Linked DNA regions of Homo sapiens: regions 1 and 3 are each linked to region 2. The links are contacts of gene promoters, found by promoter capture Hi-C in blood cells and fetal thymus (Javierre and others, 2016). All regions are on one chromosome and are shown on one strand. The core of a region is centred on a gene start or on the middle of the fragment in contact, and the rest is flanking DNA. Distances in the headings are between cores, read along the strand shown.

What was found. Contacts are between HindIII fragments. The CHiCAGO score rates a contact against its expected background, and 5 or more counts as called.
Region 1: a contact is called between a fragment that was not itself captured here and the fragment with the promoter of SPECC1L-ADORA2A in region 2, in 4 of 17 cell types (monocytes, erythroblasts, naive CD4 T cells and 1 more). The highest score is 6.4, in monocytes.
Region 3: the fragment with the promoter of MIF here is called in contact with the fragment with the promoter of SPECC1L-ADORA2A in region 2 in 2 of 17 cell types (erythroblasts and neutrophils); the score reaches 5.6 in erythroblasts.

What each region holds. Positions count from the first base shown.
Region 1 is chr22:24,557,769-24,562,347 of GRCh38, reverse strand. It overlaps SNRPD3 (small nuclear ribonucleoprotein D3 polypeptide), which reads right to left. Exons shown (of 4, transcript NM_004175.5): 2 at 4,548-4,579. Among named protein-coding and RNA genes, the nearest start is that of SNRPD3, 4.1 kb to the right of the region's middle. RefSeq lists enhancers at 1-435, 2,770-2,819. The HindIII fragment of the contact is 200 bases long and covers 2,914-3,113 here.
Region 2 is chr22:24,268,884-24,273,505 of GRCh38, reverse strand. It overlaps SPECC1L-ADORA2A (SPECC1L-ADORA2A readthrough (NMD candidate)), which reads right to left and starts at 2,689. Exons shown (of 20, transcript NR_103546.1): 1 at 2,523-2,689. SPECC1L (sperm antigen with calponin homology and coiled-coil domains 1 like) reads right to left here and starts at 2,675. Exons shown (of 17, transcript NM_015330.6): 1 at 2,523-2,675. It also overlaps the pseudogene RPS10P29. RefSeq lists an enhancer at 2,217-2,296 and a silencer at 2,357-2,886. The HindIII fragment of the contact is 24,380 bases long and covers 1,612-4,622 here.
Region 3 is chr22:23,892,427-23,897,389 of GRCh38, reverse strand. It overlaps MIF (macrophage migration inhibitory factor), which reads right to left and starts at 3,007. Exons shown (of 3, transcript NM_002415.2): 1 at 2,808-3,007; 2 at 2,446-2,618; 3 at 2,167-2,350. The coding sequence starts at 2,915. The coding sequence ends at 2,284. It overlaps MIF-AS1 (MIF antisense RNA 1), which reads left to right. Exons shown (of 3, transcript NR_038911.1): 2 at 1,280-1,561; 3 at 1,858-3,680. RefSeq lists enhancers at 1,717-2,524, 2,525-3,332. The HindIII fragment of the contact is 28,199 bases long and covers 1-4,963 here.

The DNA of each region.
Region 1 (4,579 bases), core at 1,764-4,263, 290 kb before region 2:
GGCTGGTCTCAATCTCCTGACCTCGTGATCTGCCCGCCTCAGCCTCCCAAAGTGCTGGGATTACAGGCGTGAGCCACAGTGCCCAGCCCCACATCCAGATAATTTTTAAACTTTTTTGCTTTTCAGAAGAGACAGGGTCTAACTATTTCTGAAAGAGGATAGAATAAAAAGTAAATACTAAAACCCCAAAACAGGGCAGGTGTGGCTTAGGCCTGTAATTCCAATACTTTGGGAGGCCAAGGTGGGAGGATCGCTTAAGTCCAGGAGTGCAAGACTAGCCTGGGCAACAGAGTGAGATCCTCTATTTATCTTTTCCGAATCGTTGTGGTGTGCTTTTGTGTGTGTGTGAGACTAGGTCTCACTCCGTCGCCCAGGCTGGAGTGCAGTGGCACTCCATAGCTCACTGCAGCCTTGACTTCCTGGGCTCAAGTAATCGTCCCAACTCAGCCTCCACCTGAATGGCTGGGACTACAGGCATGTGCCACCACATCCGTCTATTTTATTTTTTTTACAGACAAAGTCTTGTCATGTTGCCCAGGTTGGTCTTGAACCCCTGGGCTCAAGTGATCCTCCTGCCTCAGCCTCTCAAAGTGTTGGGATTATAGGAGTAGCCACCACATTTTGTCCCACCCCACTTTTATAACAGAAAATGTTATTGAACAAGCAAGGAAAAGTGCTAAGAGGATGTTCTCATTCCCAAAAGGCAGAATGACTGGATCTGGGAAGGACAGGCAAGCCTCACAGCCTGAGATGTGCTGAACAAACTAAACTGTGCTCAGAGTTCACCCACCACCAGCTTTAGCTACGCCACAGTCTGCTGGCTCTTATTCAATGTGCCTAGGTTTTGATAGACCCAGTGAGGCCTCTACATCCTGTTACAGGCTAAATTGTATCCCTCAAAAAAATTCATTGTTGAAGTCCTAATACCCAGCACCTCAGAATGTGATCATATTTAGAGACAAAAAATCTTTACAGGCCAGATGTGGTGGCTCATGCCTGTAATTCCAGGAGTTTGAGAGACTGAGGCAGCAGGATCACTTGTGGCCAGGAGTTTGAAACTGGCCTGAAAAACATATCAAGACTCCGTCTCTACAAAAAAATTTAAAAATTAGCCAGGTATGGTGGGGCACACTGGTAGTCCTGGATACTTAGAAGACTGAGGTGAAAAGATCTCTTGAGCCCAGAAGTCCAAGGCTGCCCATGAGCTATGATCAAACCACTGCACCCCAGCCTGGTCAACAGACCAAAGCTTAATCTCAAAAAAAAAAAAAAAAAAAAAAAAAGAAAAGAAAAAGGAAAAGAAAAAAAAGGCTGGGTGCAGTGGCTCATGCCTGTAATCCTAGCACTTTGGGAGGCCAAGGTGGGCAGATTGCCTCAGCTCAGGAGTTAGAGACCAGCCTGGGCAACATGATGAGCCTCCATCTCTATTAAAAATACAAAAAATATTAACATTAGTGGGGTACGGTGGCCCATGCCTATAACCCCAGCTACTCAGGAGGCTGAGGCAAGAGAGTTGCTTAAACCCGGGAAGACGGAGGTTTGCAGTGAGCTGAGATTGTGCCACTGTACTCCAGCCTGGACAACAGAGCAAGATTCTGTCTCAAAAAAAAAAAAAAAAAAAAAAAAAAAAAAGGCCAGGTGCAGTGGCTCACGCCTGTAATCCTAGCACTTGGGAGGCTGAGGCAAACTCAGGAGTTTGAGACCAGCCTGGGCAACATGGGGAAACCCTATCTCTACTAAAAATACGAAAAACTAGCTGGGCATAGTCCCAGCTACTCAGGAGGCTGAGGCATGAGAAGTGCTTGAACCCAGGAGGCAGAGGTTGCAGTGAGCTGAGATCATGCCACTGCACTCCAGCCTGGGCGACAGAGTGAGACTCTCAAAAAAAAAAAAAAAAAAAAAAAAAAAAAAAAAAAAAAGCAAGCAAGCTGGGCATGGTGGCTCACATCTGTAATCCCAGCACTTTGGGAGGTCGAGGCGAGCAGATCACAAGGTCAGGAGTTCGAGACCAGCCTGGCCAATATGGTGAAACCTGTCTCTACTAAAAATATAAAAATACAAAAATTAGCTGGGCATGGTGGCAGATGCCTGTAGTCCCAGCTACTCAGGAGGCTGAGGCAGGAGAATCGCTTGAACCTGGAAGGCAGAGGTTGCAGTGAGCCAAGATCGCGCCACTGCACTCCAGCCTGGGTGACAGAGCAAGACTGCAGCCTGGGTGACAGAGCAAGGCTCCATCTCAAAAAAAAAAAAAAAAAAATTCTTTATAAACATAATTATGTTAAGATGAAGTCATTAGAGTGGGCCCTAATCCTACATGCATGGTATCCTTATAAGAAGAATCTGGACAGAAACACTACAGAGGGAAGACCAAGTGAAGACACAGGAAGAGAGCCATATATAAGCAAGGAGAGAGGCCTGAAACAGATCCTTCCTTCACATTCCTCAGAAGAAACCAGCCTTGCCAACACCTTGATCTCAGACTTCCAGCCTTCAGAACTATGAGAAAATAAATTTGTGTTGTCTAAGCTGCCCAGTCTGTGAAACTTTGTTATGGTAGCACTAGCATACAAATACAAGCAGGGAGGCAGGTGGCTGTCCCCCACCATTGGTCAGGCATGGTTCCTTCTGAGGCCAAGGTGCTATTTTTATCCCTGATTTAGAGGAGGGACCAGAGGATGAAGGAGGTCCAAAGCTAAGCTCGCCCCAAGTCACCCTAGGGGGCAGGCTACAAGCTGATTCCAGGTCTGTCGGACACCAAGGTCTGTGCACTTTGTGTCATGTTGACTGCATCTCTGAATGGCTACCAAGGTTATCTGGTTAGACACCTTCACGTTACGGATGGGATGACAAAGGCCCTGGAAACCCAGCAAGTTGTCCAAATACATACAGCTAATTGAACAAACCCATTAAGCTTCACTAACCCAAGTCTTGCATTCTCCTCACCAAATTAAAGAACCTTAAAGTGGATGAGCATGCCTTAAGCCAGAGGACTGGATATATGAGAGATGATAAACTTATCTACCCTCAATAGATAAACTGATCTATTGACAGTAATGCAATAAACCTGAGTCACCAGAGGTCTACTTCTCTGCATTCAGGGAACTGACCAAGCTTGTCAACCTCGCAGGAAGATGACAGACGCTCAAAGCTACAGAAAAATCACAAATAAATGAACCCTGCAAACCAATGGATGGTCAGGATGCCTGACCGCGGTGTAAGGTGCTTTACCTCTCTGACCTTCTCATCTGGAAAAAAGCAATAGGTATCATATGTTGAACACTCACAGTATGTGAGGCACTGAGCAGCTATGGCACACATACAGCTCATCTGATCTTTGTAAAAGTCCTGGGGGTGTGGATATTACCCCTGTGGCAGTCTTAAGGGTGTGCTGCTCACATCTCCCTTCAAAAGAGAACAGGCTATGAGGAGTGCAGGCAGCCGACAATCTCCATCTTTGCAGTCCACCATGGCATTCAACTTGAGGCTACTCTCTCCCCATGTTGCCAGCCTGAACACACCGGGGGTGCCAGTCCGCCCATTTCTGCCCCATGCTAGACTCTTCTAACGAGCAATCGCTGCCTTGCTGAGATTTCCTCAAAACTACGCTGTAGTCTAAGGCTCTTCCTGCTCAATCCTCCTTCCTTTCCCCTCTCATTTCACCAGTCAGACCAGCACCATAGACTGAAAATTTCCCTGCCTACTACTGCTTCCTTGCTCTTTTATCCTTTATTGTCATTTCCCCCAATAAATACCTTGCAAAATTCTGTCTTGGCATCTACATCAAAGAACCCAACATAATACCACCCCCATTTTACAGATGAGAAAACTGAGTGGTTAATACATCTAAAGTCATATAATTAGGATTCAAACCCACATCTCTCTCTGACTCCCAAGTCCAAGTTCTTAACCAGTGGTTTAAAGAACAAAGAAAGTGTGAAGATACAACTGAAAAACAATGCTATAAAAATTCAGATGACTATGCAAAAGGCAAAGTTGTGCCATGAGAAGGACACCATATCAGGAAACTACTCCATTATTTATCATCAGAGTGATGAGCCCTTTAATCTCATTCTCCCTATTTTATGGATGACAAGACTATCACCAAACCTGCTTACCTCACAAGGTAGTTGCAATAATCAAATGAGACTCCTCCTCCAAGAGAAAAGGGAAACAAATACAGTAGGTGAGAAGATTCTGCTAATCGCAAAGCAAGTGGAGGCAAATGGATAATGGCCCTGAATCTGAAGGATTCTACTGAAGGAAGTAGCACTTCTCCCAAATAGACCCCCATATTTGGGGATGGAAAAAACAAAAAGGACAAAGTAAAATATTCCAAACCTCCAAATGGCTTTTCTGCCTCAAGATTATGTGTCTCGTTCATGCCCACACCCCCAGAGCCTATAACAGCACCTGACTGGTATGCATTAGGCACTTAGGAAATCACTGCTGAATGAGAACAATTTCCAGAGACCCTCAACACACACTTTTCTGTCCTTCAAGACACAGGGCCATTCCTCCCACACAGCCTCACATGCAAAGCAGAATACCTGGCAGTTCATGTTGTCCTCTGCTTCAATGA
Region 2 (4,622 bases), core at 1,440-3,939:
TACCCTTGCATTTACTATTTACGTTTACCATATATCACCATTTACTATCACCATCATTTCATAAAAGATGCTTTATTTTAACACCAAGAAAGCAGAACTTTTTTAAAGAAAAGATAGTCCTTCAATTGAATAAATTGAATTGTATAAAAGACTCCCAATATTGTCCTTTTTTTCTTATTTCTGTTCCCTTACTGAGCTGAGCAGTTTGCATAATACCACACACAGGTTAGTCATGTGATTTAAATATGTATATGATAGTAATTTTGATACTATCACTTAAGTCATTCGAAATATCAGATGCACTGTGTGTCAAGTCAGTTATAGAGAACCACTGCTTCAGAGAAATCACATCTGAGGAAGAAACACCGCAGATACACCTCCTAAAAGTTCACCTTTGAAACAGAAATTTTGATACAAACTTCACTTTAACTACAACTGTAATTGTAATTATTACAGTTATTCTCCACTCACTAGATACTGTACTTGACACTCACGTTATTTAGTTGGCTACCAACGTGCACCTGTGATAAAGCTTTCCTATGGCACAACATTCACTTTCTTACTGAAAATGTCAAGAAAACCCCTACACACCTGCAACCATTAGGAAGCATTCTCCAGCTATCAAAAAAGTCACTGAATCGGCTAAGCGACTCTGTGTGGTATACACTAAATCAAAGGGGAAAAGGTGTTTTTTTGGAGGAAAAAAATACTGGATTAGCCATTTATTGAAACAATTTTACCCACAACAATACTTCTCCTTTCACTATATACCCTTCTATGTTGGTTTGGTTATTTTACAACATACATGTATATTGTAATAGCTGTTTTTTTTTTTTTTTGAGACAGAGTCTCACTCTGTCGCCCAGGCTGGAGTGCAGTGGCGAGACCTCGGTTCACTGCACCCTCTGCCTCCTAAGCAATTCTCCTGTCTCGGCCTCCCGAGCCGCTGGGATCACAAGCGTGTGCCACCACGCCCGACTAATTTTTATATTTTTTGTAGAGACGGGGTTTCACCATGTTGGCCAGGCTGGTATCGAACTCCTAACCTCAGGTGATCCACCCGCCTCGGCCTCCCAAACTACTGTGATTACAGGCGTGAGCCAGGGAGCTCGGCCTTGTTATATCTGGTTTTTGTTTTTTTGAGACGGAGCCTCGCTCTGTAGCCCAGGCTGGGGTACAGTGGCGCGAACTCGGCTCACTGCAACCTCCGCCTCCCGGGTTCAAGCGATTCTCCTGCCTCACCCTCCTGAGTAGCTGGGATTACAGGCGCGCGCTTTTTGTATTTTTAGTAGAGACAGGATTTCACCATGTTGGTCAGGCTGGTCTTGAACTCCTGACTTCAGGTGATCCGCCCGCCCCGGCCTCCCAAAGTGCTGGGATTACAGGCATGAGGCACCGCGCCTGGCCTGGTTTTTAATTACGAAGAAAAAATTACTATAGTCCCTTTGGTATCACCTACATTGGCAAAATTGCAGTCCCCCTCCACTCCCTGAAGCCACCAGAAATGACTGCTGTTGTCTACAAAGCCTACAGCTCTGATTTCATCTCAAGATGTGTCCTACTGGGTGACAGCAAATGCCATTTTTTAAAGGCTTGTATCTGTTATAAGCTTGGGAAATATTATCATGGCTTAAGAGGCTCTTTTGACAAAAGAAAACACTGTTCCCTGAAATCACCTGGGCTGTTCACGGGAATCTTTTCCTCGCCCTTCTGGTACTTGGACAAATGATCAAGGATATCAACAAATCAAGGTTCCCCGCATTTGAATGATCACAGAATTTTTGCGTGTTCTGTAAATGGGCTAAAACTACTGGAAACTGATTTCTTTTCGTCATCTCCAGGGCAGCTTGCCCAACGTGCCGCGACTATGATGTCTTAGACTTAACTACTTAAGGTAATACAATTACCAAATTCCTGGAAACGCAAAATTTCCTCAGACAGGTACCGGATTATTCACATCCAACCTGATGCAATTAACCACGTCTCAAGAAAAAAGGACGTTCCGTCCGCCTCGGGCGCCGGCCACAGCAGAAGCAGCACCGGCAGCAGGCCCGGGGTCCGCCGCCTGTGGCCCCTGCTCCTCCGCTCTGCGCCCTCGGGGCCACTGAACAACGCTGTCCCCGCCCCAGGCAAGGGACCCGGGCGATGGGGCGGCAGCCCCAGCCTCTCCCGGAGCGGCGGAAAGGCAAGCACGAGGGTCGCACCCGGCCTGTCTGCACACAGTCAAGCCGCAAGCGGGGTCCCAGAACCAGCTGAACCCCAACACCAACGGACGAAGGCCAGTGGGTCTCGGCGGCGAAGCCTGCGGGTTGTTCCAGAAGCCCCGAAGCCCAGAACGAGGACGGCGCGGGAAGGGAAAGGCGCAGGCGCGGGACACACTGGAGGGGCCCAGGAGCAGAGACGGCGCAGGCGCTGGGCCTGCCGGGGTCTGCGGGGACGCCCGGGCGCGGCAGCGCGGGCGGCGCTGAGGCGATAAACCAACCCGCCAGCGAACACTGCGGGAACCCGGCTGCTGCTCTTACCGCGCTGCACCGCATCGCTCCCTCGCAATCTCCTGGTTTGGGCTGGGCGGTGAGCTCACCCGGTGGCTCAGCCGAGACCCGTTGAGTCCGGCCTCAGGAAAGCAGCCTACCCCGCAGCGCCGCTTGCCGGGCCGCCCGGCCTCCCTCGCGGGCCCCGCCCTTGGCCAGCCCCTTCGCGCCCAGCAGGGCTGCGGCCGTCTGCGCAGGCGTCGTGGAGGCCCCGCCTACATTCCTTCACTGCGCAGGCGCCGCCGTCCCCCACCACCACCCCCTCCCCTTCCCCCATCTCCGGCTCGCGTCCGTCTCGGCACTGGGTCGCGCAGCCGCTCTGCCACTTGGCCGGTCAAGAAAGTAGCCGGCCAGCCGGTGCGCATGCCTCAGGTCTTGGGCTGGAGCCGGGCAAGGCGGGTCCCTTCAGAGGCCCCACTGGGCCCAGCGGAATGATGCTCAGAGTCCGCTAGTCCCAAAAGTTCTCCTCAGCGTGTTTACCGTGTGCCAAGGACTGTGCTATGCATGAGCCAGACAGCAGTGAGGAAAACACAAAGCCCTGTCCTCCTGGCACTCCCGGTACATAAGGGAACAGACAAAAAGAATAAGCGAGCAACATATATGTATATATATATGTATATACATATATATATACGTATATATATATACGTATATATATATGTATATATATACATATATATATACGTATATATATATGTATATATATGTGTATATATATACATATATATATGTATATATATATATATATATATATAAAATATTAAAGAAATTCTGGGGGAGTTCGAGTTCCATCGGCCCCCATCCGGGCCACCCTGCCACCTTAGCGGCTGCTCCTCCCCAGAATGCTGATGCCTAAGAAAAACCGGATTGCCATTTATGAACTCCTTTTTAAAGAGGAAGTCACGGTGGTCAAGAAGGATGTCCACATGCCTAAGCACCTGGAGTTGGCAGACAAGAATGTGCCCGGCCGGGCGCGGTGGCTTAGGCCTGTAATCCCAGCACTTTGGGAGGCCGAGGCGGGCGGATCACGAGGTCAGGAGTTCAAGACCAGCCTGGCCAAGATGGTGAAACCCGTGTCTACTAAAAATACAAAAATATTAGCCAGGCGCGGTGGCAGACACCTGTAATCCCAGCTAGTCGGGAGGCCAAGGCAGGAGAATTGCTTGAACCCAGGGGGCGGAGGTTGCAGTGAGCCGAGATCGCGCCCCTGCACTCCAGCCTGGGCGACAGAGTGAGACTCCTCTCAAAAAAAAAAGAATGTGTGTGCCCAACCTTCCTGTCATGTAGTCCCGAGGCTACTACGTGAAGGAACAGTTTGCCTGGAGACATGTCTACTGGTACCTTACCAATGAGGATATCCAGTATCTCCGTGATTACCTTCATCTGCCCCTGGAGATTGTGCCTGCCACCCTACGCCGCAGCCGTCCAGGGACTGGCAGGCCTCGGTCTAAAGGTCTGGAGGGTGAGCGACCTGCAAGACTCACAAGAGGAGAAGCCGACAGAGATACCTACAGAAGGAGTGCTGTGCCCCCTGGTGCCGACAAGAAAGCCGAGGCTGGGGCTGGGTCAGCAACCGAATTCCAGTTTAGAGGCAAATTTGGTCGTGGACACCGTCAGCCACCTCAGTAGAATTGGAGAGGATTATTTTGCATTGAATAAACTTACAGCCAAAAAGACTTAAAAAAAAAAAAAGAAAAAAATTGTATTATGTCGCAAATGAACCTGTTGCAATGATCATACAGGTTTTTTCCTTTGATAGTTTGTACTACTTTAATAGTTTTTTCTTTTATTACATAATCTTAGTTTCCTAGGAAAACCCCAACTTGGTCGTGATACATGTTTAATCCATTGCTGGATTATTTGCTAATATTTTATTTAGCGTTTTTGCATATATGTCCATAAGAAGTTAGTCCATACTTTTGCCTCCTTGTACTATTTATGTCTGGTTTGGTTTTAAGCCTATACTAAATTCACAGTGAGTTGGGGAGAATTCCATTTGCTTCTTTTTCTGAAAGATTATCTAGGCTGGGCACTGTGGCCTACGCTTGTAAAACTAGCATTTTGGGAGGCCGAGGTGGGCGGATTACCGGA
Region 3 (4,963 bases), core at 1,758-4,257, 380 kb after region 2:
GTCTGTCTGTTGCAAACAGTGGCCCTGAGGAGAGTGAGGGTCACCCTGTAGGCCGGGGGTCTTTCTCAGCAGATGACATAGTACCACCAGAGTGATGGAGAACAGGCAGATGGACCCCACACCTGTCTGTCCTGTACCTCAGAGTTTGTGGCGTTACTTGGAAATGCATTTCCAAGGCTGACCCTGCAGGTCCTGGGGCAGTCAAACAGGGGTTTGAGGAAGAGACCCACCACCTGGTGGGCAGTGGAGCCTGTGCTTTGGAGGAAATGGAGCTGGCCATGGGATGGGGGTCAATGGGGGCAGGTGTGGCTTGAAGGTGGGATGTAGCAGCTGACCTCCCCAGCAGGCAGGCCGGTTATTAGTCCCAGGGGACTTAGGAACACTTTGGGCAGGGCAAGCGGATAGGTCCCTGACCCACAGACACCCCCTTTGTTCCTGGAGTCCAAGGACCCATGACCTTGTGGATGCCCCCAGGGGGCCACAGAACCTCAGACACTCACCTGCTTTTGGAGGACAGCTCTCACCAACCCTCCTGCCCTCACACAGCAGGTGCCCAGCCTGCCCTGCCCATCTCCTCGGCCCTCAGAGTCTAACTTGCTCATGTGAGGCCACAGGGCCCTTGCAGGGGGCATGGCATTGAGTGTATGACCATGCCCTGGATCCTGGGGTCAGTGTCCTCATCTGTGAAATGAGGGAGTTGCATTAGATGCTCATGGGGCACTGCGCCCCTGCTCTCCCTATCTGTGACACAGCCGAGAGCAAAGACCGCTGAGGCGGGGTGGGAGCCAGGGGGCCAGCCAGGGCTTGGTGGGGTGTGGGGCCCGAGGCAGAAAGAGTTTGTTGTGGGGGGAACTGGGGGTCCTGGGCAAAGCTCAGCCTCAGGCCTTGGGAGGCTGGGGCTGGGGGCACCCAGGAGCTGAGGGGATGTGATAAAGGCCAGGGCCGAGGAGGGTGCCTGTTACACCACAGGTACTCAGATCCAAGAAGGAAACCTCAAGCCTGAAAGCCAGGCTGAGAGGAGTGGGACCTTCCCGCTACAGCTGGAGCCATCCCATGCCCCCCATGTCTCCCCCAGCTGGGAGGTAGACGAGGGGCTCCACCGCCCTCTCACTGAGTTAACAATGAGACTGAGGCCCTCGGCTGGCAGGGAGTAAGCTGAGGAGGGCCTTGCTTTAGAGACCTTCATGGAAGGGGTGCCCCATCCCAAGATGGGTGCCACCCTTCCAGACTCCCTGGAGCTTCTATTCTCCTTCCTCTTCCTAATCTTCACCCCACCCAGCCCCATTGCTCTTCTGGAAGGAGAGCTCGCTGTCCAGTACTGCGCGGGATGACCGAGTGAACAGGGGACTGGAGACGAGATGTGGCTGGAGACTGAGAGAAGCAGAGGAGTCACACTCCACTCACCTCCACCTCCCAAAGTGCCGGGATCACAGGCTTGTGCCACTGCGCCCAAACATAACTGAAGGTTTTACAGACATGTCTGTGGCACCACAGAACACGAACGGTCCCAATGGAAACCCCACGCCCAATTTCCTCAGGGAACTGCTGTGGCGGAGGCTTGGTGGGTGTCTGAGGGGAGCAGAACCCAAGGCGTGGGGTTCGGGGGTGGACGGGGCGGTATGACCAAGAACTCTGCACCTCCCCCACCCACCCGCCTGAAAACTCTCCTGAAGTCACCTAACAAAGTGGATGGCAGTGAGTGGCTCTGGGTGGGATCTTTCTGTCCTCTGGCTACCCTCTGCCCAACAAGAAGGCTGGGGAAGGTGGGGCTGAGAGAAAGGTCTAGGCCTAGAAGACCTCGGACTCCTCCCAACTCCAACTCCTCCTCCCCCTCTTCCGTGGTCGGCTCACCTCCAGCACCCCACGTGGTGGCCCTAGGTACAACGGATTCCGGCGGGCAGAGCGCCTTAGATCCCGAGTCTGCAGCCCAGGGCAGAGTGCCAACTTCTCCTCATCCCTTCGTACGCCATAGAATGGAAAGACACTGGGGCTCCTCTGTTAGGAGCGTAGGAGGGACAGGCTGGACAAAAGGGCTCCCGAACAGCAGGTTCGGAGGAGAGCAACCCGGCCCTGACCCCCGCCCCCAACACCGTTCCCGACCTCGCTCCCCAATATCCCGGCTCTGCACCAATTCCTCCCGCAAGCCAAGGAACCCCGAGGCACTCCTAGTCTCTAAACCGTTTATTTCTCCCCACCAGAAGGTTGGGGTGGGCGGGCCTAGAACACAGCGTGCGGCGGGTTCCCGGGTGGAGCCAGCGCAGACAGCGTGGGTCCCTGCGGCTCTTAGGCGAAGGTGGAGTTGTTCCAGCCCACATTGGCCGCGTTCATGTCGTAATAGTTGATGTAGACCCTGCGGGGGGAGGAGGCCGGACTCAGCGGGTGGCTCAGTCCCGGGCCTGGCCGCGCGCCGCCGCCCCTCCCCCGCCCCTCCGCGACTCCGCGTACCTGTCCGGGCTGATGCGCAGGCGCTCGGCCAGCAGGCCGCACAGCAGCTTGCTGTAGGAGCGGTTCTGCGCGCCGCCGATCTTGCCGATGCTGTGCAGGCTGCAGAGCGCGCACGGCTCGCTGGAGCCGCCGAAGGCCATGAGCTGGTCCGGGACCACGTGCACCGCGATGTACTGCGAGGAAAGGGCGCGGTCAGCCCGCCCCAGCGACCTCGTCGGGCCCCGAACGTCCACTTCGGGCCCGAGCCACCGTCCTCCCCCCGCCCCGCCCCCCAGCTCCGTTCAGGAGTCGCCTCCCCAGCTCCCAGCGCGGAACCCCTCGTCCGGTGGGCACCCCCCTCTTCCTGTCCCCTCCCGGCAAACCTGGGGGGGCTTGCCGGTGGCCTGCGCCAGCTGCTGGGTGAGCTCGGAGAGGAACCCGTCCGGCACGGAGGCGCGGGGCACGTTGGTGTTTACGATGAACATCGGCATGATGGCAGAAGGACCAGGAGACCCGCGCAGAGGCACAGACGCACGCGCCGCGGCCGCCGCTGAGCTACGTGCCTGACTTCTCGGACACCACTGTGGTCCCGCCTTTTGTGACGCCACCGCCGGCGCCAGGCCCCGCCCCCGCGAGGCTGCGGCTCCGCCCCGAGTGGGGAAGTCACCGCCTGCCTCGGCTCGACCCCCGCAGGGCAGGACCCTGGGCGACTCCGCCCGTTCCTCCAGCAACCGCCGCTAAGCCCGGCGCACCGCTCCAACCTGTTCTCCACTTGGCGGCTAGAAATCGGCCTGTTCCGGCCTCGCCTCGGGTCTTTCTTAGTCCTTTCACTAAGTCACCGATGTTAGTCGCCAGGAGGCGCTGTGCCGGGGGTGGGGATGCGGCGGTGAACCCGGAAGATGGCCCCTTACCCTTCCAGAGATGAAGCCCAGTTCATTCCACTGCACGCACTGAGCCCCTGTACCTCCTGTCTTTGGGCCACATGTCCTCAAGGGCTCCAGTCCCGCATGCGTGAGCTTGTGTGTTTGAGATGGGGCGGGGTAGTCATCGCGGCAGGTGAGAGGGGAGCTGCCCCTGCGAATCACCATCCAGGGAACTTCCCTGAACCCCTGCTCTTTAAAGAGGATAGGATGCTGGGAGGCACCGAAGGGAAGGAGGCGAGGTCCAGAGCAGGTTCAGTGGTTCAAACGTGCTCAGCTCCCCTTCTCTGGGCCTCTGGGCAACTTCAGCTCCTCAGGGAAGCCACACCCTAGTCAGGTCCACCGTGTATGGCCTCTCATAGAGCCCTTGGTGAATTTCTTAAATGTCTTTTCCACTAATGGTAAACTCGGGGACCATCTAGCAGGTGCCAGGCATACAAGAGACATTGACTAATACTGCTGAATGAATGAATGAATGAATGGGTGAAAGAAGATAAGCCATGACATAGCAGGAAGAGGACAAGGCAGCAACTGGATCACAGGCCAGGTCCTCAGAGATTTCCAGGGAGGTCCTGTCCTTGGTCTCTGATAGGTGCAATCCATATACCAGTCTCAGTGAAGGCCATGTGATATAGGAAGGACACCCATGCCTGTGGGACCCTCGTGGCACCAGCCAGCCTCCAGCTGGGAGGCCCCATGGCCCATTTATACAAATAGCCTATGGGTATTGGTTCCTGCAGCTGGGCCCCAGACTCTTTCCCTCCTGGTGTCACACCTTCTCTTACCTGTGCCCAGGGCTCCCTAACTGATGGCACTCCATACCATGTCTCCAGCCAGGGGCACTCCCCTAAGTCCCAGGCGCTGACAGCAGCTGACTGAGTGTCCACTGCTCTGTAAAGTCCAAATGTATGACTTGTCCTCCTACACCTCATCACCTGCCAGTAAAATATGCTTCCTTTCACTATCCCTTTATTCCCACTTCTCTCCATTCCCTGAACTACCGCCTAGTCTACACTACCTGCATCCCCTTTGGCCTGGACCACTGTGACTTCCCTATGGTGGACTGCTGCTCCTCAAGGGAGGAGTCTGTTTCCAGCCCCAGGCAGCAGAGTTAGCCCCGACTCCCTGTGCCCTATGAAAGCTGAGCAGAATTACATAAGTCACTCCAGGCAGAAGACTGAAGAGCCAGGGCCTGGTTGACCTGTGCCCTGTGAACCTGAATGACAAGGTGCAGCCTCGCCAGCAAGCACATGAGCTGCCCCTGGAGGTGAGCCCCTGCCAATCTCAGGTTGTTACCATAACAAAGGGTTGCCTTACCTGGCCAGTGACGGAGCAGGAGCATTGCCATCTTGAACAAACACCACCATTCTAAGTTCCCCCTTAATTAAAAGCCGCCTAAATCCAGCCCGAAAATATCAGCCTAATAGCTAATGTCAGCATAACCAGAAACATTCCAACCCTAAGATAAACCCTTCTCTGACCAGAAACATGCCAACCCGGAGACAGCCTCCCTTCTGACCAGAGACATTCCATCCCCGCAATAAACTTTCCCTCACACAGAAACATTCAGAACCTATGATAAGAACCCCCTCCAAAACCCTTAAATATCCTTAGTTTGT